Regions from separate parts of the Homo sapiens genome. Here region 2 is linked to region 1. The links are contacts of gene promoters, found by promoter capture Hi-C in human tissues and cell types (Jung and others, 2019). All regions are on one chromosome and are shown on one strand. The core of a region is centred on a gene start or on the middle of the fragment in contact, and the rest is flanking DNA. Distances in the headings are between cores, read along the strand shown.

Region 1 (5,335 bases), core at 2,645-5,144:
TGAGTTATTCTCTTAACCTTAATCTATTTTTCATACGGTGGGATGACAGTCATCAAATGAAATCATTTTTAAGTTTCCCAGAACTGTGGAAAAACTAAGCTAATCTTACTTTCATAAGCTTTTTAAAGGGCAAAATTTTACTTTTACTTTTAAAATAATTTTTAAAAGGAGCTACTAATCTCAACAAATCCAACTATTAAAGTTTCACAGGGACAAAAAAGAACTACCACCAGTGGGTACAAATTTGTTATATGTTTTGTTCTGGCTATGGTTACACCTCTTGATTTTGGAAACATGATTATTTTGCTGAATCTTAAATTTTAAAAAAACACTGAACATAATGTCAAATTGAGCCTGATTTTCTTCCTTCCTTCCTTCCTTCCTTCCTTCCTTCCTTCCTTCCTTCCTTCCTTCCTTCCTTTCTTTCTCTTTCTTTCTGATACATGTAAAAAAAATGTTTTAGTTATCTTTAGGGCTCAGAACTCAAAGGTTTAAGAATCACTGGAGATCTGAAGAAACCAGACAGGAGCCAGCCAGCTACTATGTGTTTAGGGAGTGATGCTCACTCCAAAGCCTACTCTCGTTCTTCCGCAGCAGTGCTTCTCAAACTTTGACCAAAGCACGCGGACAGTAGGGGAGAATGGATTCTATCTGCAGGAAGAAGACAGAGTCCAGGGCTGCGAGTTTTCATTCAAAGTTCACACTAAACTTCACACTATTCTTATGTCTGTTTTAATATAAAGAAATACGCTTTGAAATGCACATTTCTTTATACTAAACCTCCAGCACCTTCTACCCCTCCTTTTATTTTTCCCTTACTTTTTCATGTAGACACTTAATGCCTCCACAAAATCATATTGTTCACTTATCTTCTTTGATTATTGTCTGCTTCCTCCCCGAGGGAGGGTTATTTTGTTCGCTGCTGCACGCCAGCACCAAGAACAAGACCTGGCACTTGTCAGGACTCAACAAATCCATGCAGAATGAACGATGAAATGTTTTAGATGAGGATGTGTTCAATCCAACTGTTCTGGAGGGGCTCCTTCTTTATCCCATGGCTCAGAGGCACATTTCCTCATTCTGAGTGGCAAGCGCTCCCAGTTTTGGAAGAAAAAAATGTGTTACACTTAGGGAATGTGGGGGAAAGAAGCAGCAATGACTCTTCCCCACTTGCTTGGCATCACAAGATACTTTTTGACTTCTGAGCCCATGTCATGCATGTAGTGTGTCATGTGCCCACATCATGAGATCTTTTCTTGATTCCTGATGAGTTAATTTGATTTTATTCCCACTAAGTGTCCTCTGATTTAATGAGGGTGGTCTTCAGTGGCCTGCACTTGCCTAGACAATGCTGCTCTCCCTGCCTGAACAGATCCTTCTCATCCCTCAAAGCCCAGCTTGGGTGAAACCTCTTTTTTGACATTAGCCTTCATTTAATGGTTTGAAAGCCAAGGCCAGGTCTTTTTTTTTTTTTTTTTTTTTTTTTTTTCCCATTCAGAGGCAGCCTTTCCAGCAATGTGGGGCCAGGGAATGGATGTCTATGAAGTCTATTGAAGTGGCCTAAGAGAAACAATAAGCTGATTTCAAAGCATATACAGCAATTTTAAAAGAATGTACAATAGTGTATCATCTTTCACTAAGTCACAAATGCCAATCACCAATTCATTTAACTCTGTATTTCCTCTAGGTTCTCAGGAAAACATTTACTTTCTTTCATCTATAGCAATTTTAGGCACAAAAAGCTACATGCTTGGCCTGACCATGGTCCTCCGATGACAAGTTGTTGGTCTTTAAAAGCACATTTTGCTAGTTACTGACATTACTGAGCTTACTTAAAAGAGAGCTACCTTGTTATTCTCTGAGAGTATCCCAAGCCACCTTGTTTACCTACCATTACAATGTTTAGTATGATAAGCCCGCATATAAACCCTAGCTTGTCCCAGGCACTCTTGTAAGCTGATTGCATTTATTCACTCATTACTCTGCAAAACAACTTTACTACTATGATCCCCATTTCACAGATGAGGAAACAGGCACAGAAAGAGGATGAGTAAAAGTAAAGCTGGTAAGTTCCAGAGTCAGGATTCGGACCTAGGTGCTCCTGAGACCATGTGCCTAACTACTAGCCAGCTTGCCTCACACCTTTGTCCTCCTCCACCTCCTCCATACCTGTCTGCCCACCCCTTGCCCCGATCTTTCCTTTTCATGGCCAGAGAAAGATCCTGCTGCCTCACTCTAAAATCATCTCCCAAATCAACGAAGCTAAATTTCTTCCAATTGGGATGAAACCACCTTAATGTTCTTTCTTAATTCTTTGCACACTCTAGCTGATACTGATTATTCACTTATTGGCTAGCCCCTGCTATTCCATGCTTTGATCAGACACACCCATCTCTTAATGTTCTGTTTTCTTCTCTCTGAATTCCTGAACAGAATATTTACAAATATAAAGTCCAACAAGAAAATGGTGTGATCTAAATGGGGTTTCGGAAACATAAATCTGGTGGTGGCATCTGAGGAGGGAAAGGGAGGGTGTGTGGGTGAGAAAATGGGTGTGTAGAACTGTTAGAAACTTCCACTTTTGAAGTCACAAAATGCTGTAAGAGCTTTGGGAATGGAAAGGAAGGGGTGGATTCAAAATGCATTTTAGAAAGAACAATGGGTTGGACTTGTGGGCAATTGCCTCTAGGGATAAGGTAGAGAAGGGAGTTAAAATGATACCGCTATTTTGGGCTCAAATGATTATAATGAGAGTTTCATCACCTGAAATAGGTACATCAGGAAGCTAATCTGATTCAGGGAGAACAAAAAGTTCATTTTAGAATCTTTGTCATCATCCCTGTTCAACAGTTGGAAGCCACCATAAGTGAGCATTTAATGAGCCCCATTCAAGTGTCTAACAGAGCATATGATGTTAAATGTCCAACAATAATTAACTGAAGGTGAATACACCTTTTATTCTGGCCCCACGGAGGTGCCTACCAGGGTATTTGATGCGTAAGATCCTCCCCAGCCCTCCTCTACAGGGATGGAATTGGGGGTATGATTTGAATGTAAGAAATACGACTTAAGGCCGGGCACGGTGGCTCACACCTGTAATCCCAGCACTTTGGGAGGCCAAGGCAGGCAAATCATCTGAGGTCAGGAGTTTGAGACCAGCCTGGCCAACATGGTGAAACCCTGTCTCTACGAAAAATACAAAATTAGCATGGCATGGTGGAGCGCGCCTTTAATCCCAGGTACTCAGGAGGCTGAGGCAGGAGAATCGCTTGAACCCAGGTGGCGGAGGTTACAGTGAGCCCAGACCATGACATTGCACTCCAGCCTTGGCAACAAGAGCGAAACTCCATCTGAAAAATAAAGAAATATATATAAATAAAAATTAAAATAAATAAAAGAAGAAATACCACTTACTACATAGCCTAACCCCACGCAATAGCAAATATATTTTCTTTATCACACCTAAAAATCGTCAGAAAATGGCAAAATTAGTCATGTTATGTGCTTGATTTCCAGATTTGGTCTTACTTCATATTAATTTCTTAAGTAACCAACTCAAACGATCTTGAACTCCCACCCATTTGTTTCTTCAAAGTCCTGAACAATGCCAGAAGAGAGTCTACAGATCAGACAGTGCAAACAGAAAGCTTCTTGGAATTCAGCCATTAAAATCAGGCACTCAAGGTAGAATAGCAGGAGTAAAAGCTGAAAGACCTACACACTCAGCACAGAGCCAAGGCAGCTCAATCGCAGGGCCTAGAGTGGTGCGTTCAAAGAGTGTGAGATTGGTAGACAATCGCTCATGAAACAGTGTTTCGAAAATCTAAGCGACTCTGATGATTCATATTAGGAATTCATCCCAAACCTCAGATTGGTACACCTTCCTTGATTTCACACAAGCTCAGGAGTAGCTGCCATGCACATCAGTGTCCATTAAAATGACTTGTAGCAAATCTCTACGTTCAAAGTCTAACTTTGACAGACAACCTTACTTCCAGCGAAGTCTACTCCCCTCCCTCCGGAGGGAAGAATGGGCTGCGGTTAAGCGTTTGCCCTGGTGTCAGGGCCAACTGCTTCGAAGCGCCAGACTTTCGGAGACTGTGGGTAAGAGAAAAAAAAAATCCAGTCCGGGTTTTGTCTGAGCGGGGGGACCGGAGGGTTGTGAGGAATGGCTCGCGAAGAGGGGGGCGGTGGTGGAAAACATACAACACAAACAGCTCGCGCCGAGGCACGGCAGCGGTAGGCCCGGAGCGCGCGGGCGCAGCCGGCCGGGAGAGGCGCGCGCGGGCTCGGCCGCCGGCCGCATGGAGCGCAGCGCGGCCCGCGGCTCCCGGGCGGCGGCGGCGGCGGCGGAGGCGGCAGCGCGCCGCTCGCTCACACCCACCCCCGCCCGCGGCCGCCGCGCCGCCCCGCCGTAGCCGCCGGCCGCCGGCGTCCCCGCCGGCCGGTCCAGCGAAGGCGGCGCCCGCGCCTCTGCAGCCAGTGGCAGCCGCGGGTCCTGGCCGGCGGCTCCTGCAGCCCCTTGCGGCCGCGAGTCCCCGGCCCTGCGGCCACCGGCGGAGGCAGAGGAGGAAGAGGAGGTGACAAACTCTCCGGCCCCGCGCCGCGGCCCGCAACCCCGCGCTCAGGCATGCAGGCGCGGCGTCTAGCCAAGCGCTCCAGCCTGGGCAGCCGCCGGGGGGGCGCCGCGCTGCAGCCTGCCGGGCCGGCGCCCGCGCCCGCCAAGGAAGCCGCCCTACCCGGGCTCCCGCCCCCTGTCCCGGGCCCGGCCCCGGCGCCCGCCCCGGAGAGCTGGAGGCCGCCGCTGCCGCCGCCGCCGCGCAGCGCCGGGACCGGCCCCCCTCGGGCCACCGGGGCCGCCGCCGCCGCCTCGTCGCCGGTGCTGCTGCTTCTAGGGGAGGAAGACGAGGACGAGGAGGGCGGGAGCAGGCGGCGGAGGGGGCTCGGGCGTGTGGAGGAGAAGCCCCGAGGGGGCGCGGAGGAGGAGGATGACGACGAGGAAGAGGAGGACGAGGAGGTGGTCGTCGAGGTGGTGGACGGCGACGAAGACGACGAGGACGGCGAGGAGCGTTTCGTGCCCCTCGGACCCGGCCACGCAGTCCCCAGGGGCCCGGCCCGGGGCGCGTTGAAGGTGCGTGTTGGGCGCGGTGGCGCGCGTGGGACCCGCCAGCCCGGGGAGGGGGACGGGCCCGGGCCCCGGGGCAAGGCGCCTGGCCGAGGACGGTCAGCGGCGCCGGGGAGAGACCCGGCCAGGAGGGGTGTGTCAGGCGGCGCGGGCGGCCGCGCGGGGCAGCGCGAGGAACTGTTGATTTGCCTGCGCCTTGGGCCCCTGCGT
Region 2 (5,468 bases), core at 628-3,127, 340 kb after region 1:
TCCACAGCTAAAATATTAGGTCTCAGAATATAAATTACTTTAGGTCTTTATTCCACTAGGCTACTCAAAGTGAATGTTTTTTTGTTTTTTAAAAACCCGTACTGATCCTGATTATGAGGACTGTATGGTGTTTATAATTATCAATGTATAAATTATACAGATTACAAATATATAAATACAGAAACAAAACTTCTGTATTAGAAGGTGGTCAGAATGAAGATGATACAGTTAGGGATTTTAGTTCACAGAAAACTTCATTATGATAAAGTACATCTAGGATCAAAGATAATTTGGTGTTTTTCTAGTAATATCAAAACAATCAACTGGCAAACACTTTTAGGGCTGAAGAGACTTCCTATTCTGAAGTGTGGGGCCACAAATATCTCACCTTAAAGTAGGGGAAGTAAATAGGCCTCATTTAATGCCACAACCAATAGATTTGGACTGACGGCCCATAGCACCTTGCTGAGAAAGATTCTAAGGCTGTGTTGGTGATTAGCAAAAAAGACTGTTTTCATCCATTAGTCCTGTCTGCCTCAGGTGTGGGAATATGGGGTGAGGGTACACTTACCCTGTATTTGTCATTCCTGGCTTAAACTAATACATTAATTGACGCACCCAAATTTGAATTCAGAATCTGTCACTTAGTAGCTATGACGCTGTGGGTAAATTGCTTATTTCCTTAAGTCTCAGTTTCTTAATTTGTAAAACAGGGATGATGAAAGCACATTTTAGAGGGATTTTTAAAAAAATATTTAAATATTTTTAATATTTAAAGCGGGGTCTGGGACAAGATATGTGCTCTATAAAGAAAAGCTACTATTATTATTATCATTCATGAGTGTTTTTAAATTAATGGTTAAAAAAATTTTTTTTAAGCACAAAACCCTGAAAGCCTAACAAATAAGATAAAAGTGAAGCTGCTGTAGTTGAGGTTTAGCTGAAGGCCCAGGGCCCCACCTACTCTGCTGTGTCCTTCCCGGACAGGCTAGAGAGGCATCTTCAAAGAGCCCCTAGGACCCTAGAGCACAGTTTGAAAATCCCTGAAGAAGGTTATTTAAAAGTGAAAACAATGCTCTCCTTTTGAGGTTCGCTCTGCATTTGTTAGCCAGTTAGGCTTAAACAAGACAGGTCATAGTCAGGGCAAAATGGCCAAATTTAAGGCAGAGGAAAATATACTATGAAGAAACTATTCATGGAAGTAAAGTATTCAAAATCCAGTAGTAAATTTACATGGTTAACATTAGAATAAAATTTAAACATCGAGATTATTTTTAGCAAATAAAATAGGATTCCAATTTATTTTAGGTTATCTTGAAGATACAGTGAGTCTTCAGCTTTGTCTTTATATCTAAAACATGGCTAGATGTAGTTAAAAGAATTTAGCTAGAAAAATAACTCCCAAGAGTTAGCCAAAGATCAGAAGAAAGTAAGCAAAGGACTAAGTAGGAACTCAGAGATGAAAGCAAAGAATGTATGGAACACTCATCAAGCACAAACGCAAAAAGGGAAAATAAAAAGTTCAATCGCTTTTAAAATTCACATTATAAATAATTAAACGAGATTATTTAGATCACTCTCTACTAAAGAAAAAACAAAAGTTTTCTAATAGAGCTAAATAAATATACATAATCTAAATGATACCAATAGTGATGGAATATACCAAATGTTCTGGATATATTAAAGAAAAAAATTATCCAATTATTCACCAACTTTTCCTGCTCAAAGAAGTAAAGCCAGTTCATATGAAGCTGTAGTTTATTCTGAAACCTTTCTAAATGACATCAACAAATCATGACAATTTTTGCTTGAGGAATATTTTCCATCTATTGTGCCTCGTAAGAATCTCCTACATTCCCTCTCCAATGTCCATGACAGAGTCCTGTTCATGAGCTATGACTACGCTTCTCAGAAGTCTTTAAAAGCTTTCATCTCTGAAATTGAAATATAAAGGCCTTAAATATATGCCATGTTCTAATTATTAATTCCAAAATAAAAATGCTTTAAACATACTTAAATTATTATGATGGGACTCAATTACATAGTACATCAATCTTTAGCTTCAATTGCTTGCGATTTTTCTTTAATGGTACAATTAGGTTTTCTGTGAGTGCATGTGGTTAAAAAATAAAAACTGAGTCTCTTTCTTTAGCATATATAAATGCTACATTCTGCCTTTGCAATTACTCCATTAGTCATCTCCAACAATGAATTATGGTGATAAAGGAGGTACTATTTTTTAAAATATGCCACTAGAAAGGACATTAATTACAGTATAATATACTGGAAACATTCTCAAATCTGATTTTTCAAGTTATTTACATCATAAATGCAGAAAACAAACTTCTACAGTGGTAAATGCATATTTACCACTACAGCTAATGCATATTTATCAATTTCCTGCTTGCAAAAAATACTGCATGTCTGTATCATTTGCACTTAGTTTCCCAACATTTAGAAGTCTAGAGTTACACTGATACTATAAGGAAATGACTTACATTAAACATAAAACTTACAGCAAATTGGCATGATGCTACTGAGTGATAGATGCTTGAAGAGTAAAAACTTCCCTTTGTCACGCATATCAATCAATTGCTGCAAATGGCAATAAAATGAATCACCTAGACAGGAAGGATGGTCTTAGGATTCTCAGCTCTCTCATATTCGTAGATTTTATGCCAAGAGAACAATGACATCTATGGTGGTAGCTTTCAAACGGCACACAATAAGCCTTAGAAAATGCATTTGGGTGTTTATTATTAGGGAATTTCCTAACTCATATTTTTAAGTTCAAAAATTGCTAATGAGCATTGATAACTTTTAGGATGTAAATTAGCTAGTGAGAATATTCAAATTCTTCCATCTTAGTGACACAAATGCACTAGACATATACTCTTAATGTTTTTCAAAAGAAGGACAGCATAAAAATAACAAAGTAGCTATAATTTTGAATCTATCCTGCTGCTAAAGAGGCGAATGACTTGGGCTTGAGGGACTTGAAGTTTTACAAGAATTTAATAATAAATACTGAAATATTCCTCATTTCTTTTAGACTATAATCTAAAATGCAATTAAAGAAAAAACCTCTCATCATCCCTGTAATACATTTTCTAAAGGAATTGCATAAATTTATGAATGTTAAAATTACACTGCCTTAAGTCAATTAATTATGAAATTCTTGAATGCCTGGGATTAAGCAACATTTAAATTTTGATATCAAACTGCAAACTTAAGATTAAACTTGCTTCTCCAAGATAAGTGTTATACCAGTGCCAGCAAATTAACATCCTAGTTTATAAAAAATAATTCTTGATGCCTCTCTTTAAAATGTATTTTTGGGCATCAATTTTTGATATCAAATATTCAATTCTTAGTCTTGAAAAGTAAAACATTCAACTGAAAAAGGGTAAACAGCGTGGATTTCTCACATTATTCTTACAGAAATGAAAACAGAGGCTGGGTGTGGTGGCTTACACCAGTAATCCTAGCACTTGGGGAGGCCGAGGCAGGAGGATTGCATGAGGTCAGGAGTTGGAGACCAGCCTGGACAACATAGTGTGACCTTGTTGCTACAAAAAATAAAAAAAAATTAGCTGGGAGTGGTGGAGCATGCCTGTAGTCCCAGCTACTCAGAAGGCTGAGGCAGAAGGATCACTTGAGCTTAAGAGTTCAAGGCTACAGTGAAATACAATTGTGCCACTGCACTTCAGCCTGGGCAACAAAGCAAGATCCTCTCTCAAAAGAAAGAAAGAAAACCTAGAGTATTGTTTTTTAGGCATAGAAAAATTTTAAGATCCCAAGCACTCCTCTCTCCCTTCCAATCTCCACTGTTACATAAACCATTATGTGTAGTCTCAAACTTAATCTGAGTGGCTTCAGGGGATGAAATGATTATCCAGTGGAAGTTGTAGAGAGGCAGATTTCCACCTGCCTCAAATGTAGGGAAGAACTGATAGGACCTCAAGATAATATGACCTGTTATATGAGGTAGTAAGTGGGAGGTACACATTTATGGCATGAGTTCAAGCAGAGGCTGGATAAAGTACAGAGTATTTGTTTCTAACATTCCTTCAGCTCTAAGATTCTATTGATCTTAGTTAACAGAGACACATACATGTTGATGAGACATGATGAAATCAGCTAGACACCACCTCATCAAACAGTGTTAACATGGCTGGCATGCATTAAATATCTTCAGAAAAGCTGAGGTTGTAATTTTTCTGAAAGTGATTTTACTATGCAACATCAGCCCATGGTGAGACTCCGTACAGTAAAATGTAAATCTAAAGACCTTGAGGACATCCAACAGAAACTAAAGAACTGTGACCCAAATTAGGATTGTGATTGAATATCCTTTATGCACCAAGCAATAGTGCATGGTATCATTCCATGTTTGCAAACTCCAAAGAGATCAGGGATAAAAATTACCAGAGTTTAAGCCACTGTGATCAATGGAATGGAGTAACACCAATGGAAAGAACAATGGGAAAGAGCACGCAGCCAGGAGGATCACTTGAGCCTAAGAGGTGAAGGCTGCAAGTGAGCTGAGATCACTGCATTCCAGCCTTGGTGACAGAGTGAGACCCTATCTCAAAAAAAAAAAAAAAAAAAAAAAAAGAGTGCCCAGCAAAGAAATAGGGGAATATCGATGCTTTCAGGATCAAATAAGAGGAGTGTTATCTGAAGGAAACTAGTCATTAATAATGCTAAATGCTGCAGAGTGGGGTGTGTATTTGACAATTAGTCACTAGTGGCCTTTTGAAGGGTAGTTCCACTAAAATATCGAAGACAGAATCTAGATTGCTATGGGTTGGACAGTGCATGGAATGCCCTCATAATCTTAAGTGGTTATGTTTTCCTTAGAGTTCCCTTATATATCTTCCCTGATTATATCTGACACTCCTGATGGGATAGGATCTCATTAAACAGGAAAAACAATAGAAATTTTTCTACATCCCTTAGAACCAAACTAACTTCTGATTAATATTAGCCTTAATATTATGGGAAAACTCTTGGAACAAGTTAGGTCAACTTGTGTTTTAAATAGAAATTTTCTGACTCCAGAGTTGTGCTCAGCACTGAATTTGTATATTTGGCATGTACTTACTGAGAGCCTACTATTCCACCAGACTGGGCAACACAAAGTCTACAAGAAAGTCCTCAATTAGGGGTTCCAATGGGGAATCAGTGTGTCATGACATAAAGGTTTATTATTCAGTTTGATAGTCTTTAGTCTTGGGAACTTTACTGAGGGCTTGATGGAAAGTATTTTTCAGGTCAGCTGTTTTGATTCACAGACTTAGCATTCTCAAGCTATGCCCAAGATGACTGACAAGTCTAATTTAGTGACACCTTGTTATGAATGTAGATGTTAATCAGATACTCAACATTTGAAAGGCTACAGAAAGTCTATGTTACAGTGCTCAAGGTTGAAGCATGATTGAAAATAAAAGGCTCTTTTAACATAA

The links. Contacts are between HindIII fragments. The study calls those that stand out against the background at their distance.
Region 2: a fragment that was not itself captured here is called in contact with the fragment with the promoter of ZNF704 in region 1 in 1 of the 25 tissues and cell types used here (thymus).

The regions. Positions count from the first base shown.
Region 1 is chr8:80,873,340-80,878,674 of GRCh38, reverse strand. It overlaps ZNF704 (zinc finger protein 704), which reads left to right and starts at 3,894. Exons shown (of 9, transcript NM_001033723.3): 1 at 3,894-4,104. RefSeq lists a silencer at 5,015-5,215. The HindIII fragment of the contact is 4,011 bases long and covers 1,884-5,335 here.
Region 2 is chr8:80,528,863-80,534,330 of GRCh38, reverse strand. No RefSeq gene overlaps it. Among named protein-coding and RNA genes, the nearest start is that of LINC02986, 8.0 kb to the left of the region's middle. The HindIII fragment of the contact is 4,459 bases long and covers 1-4,106 here.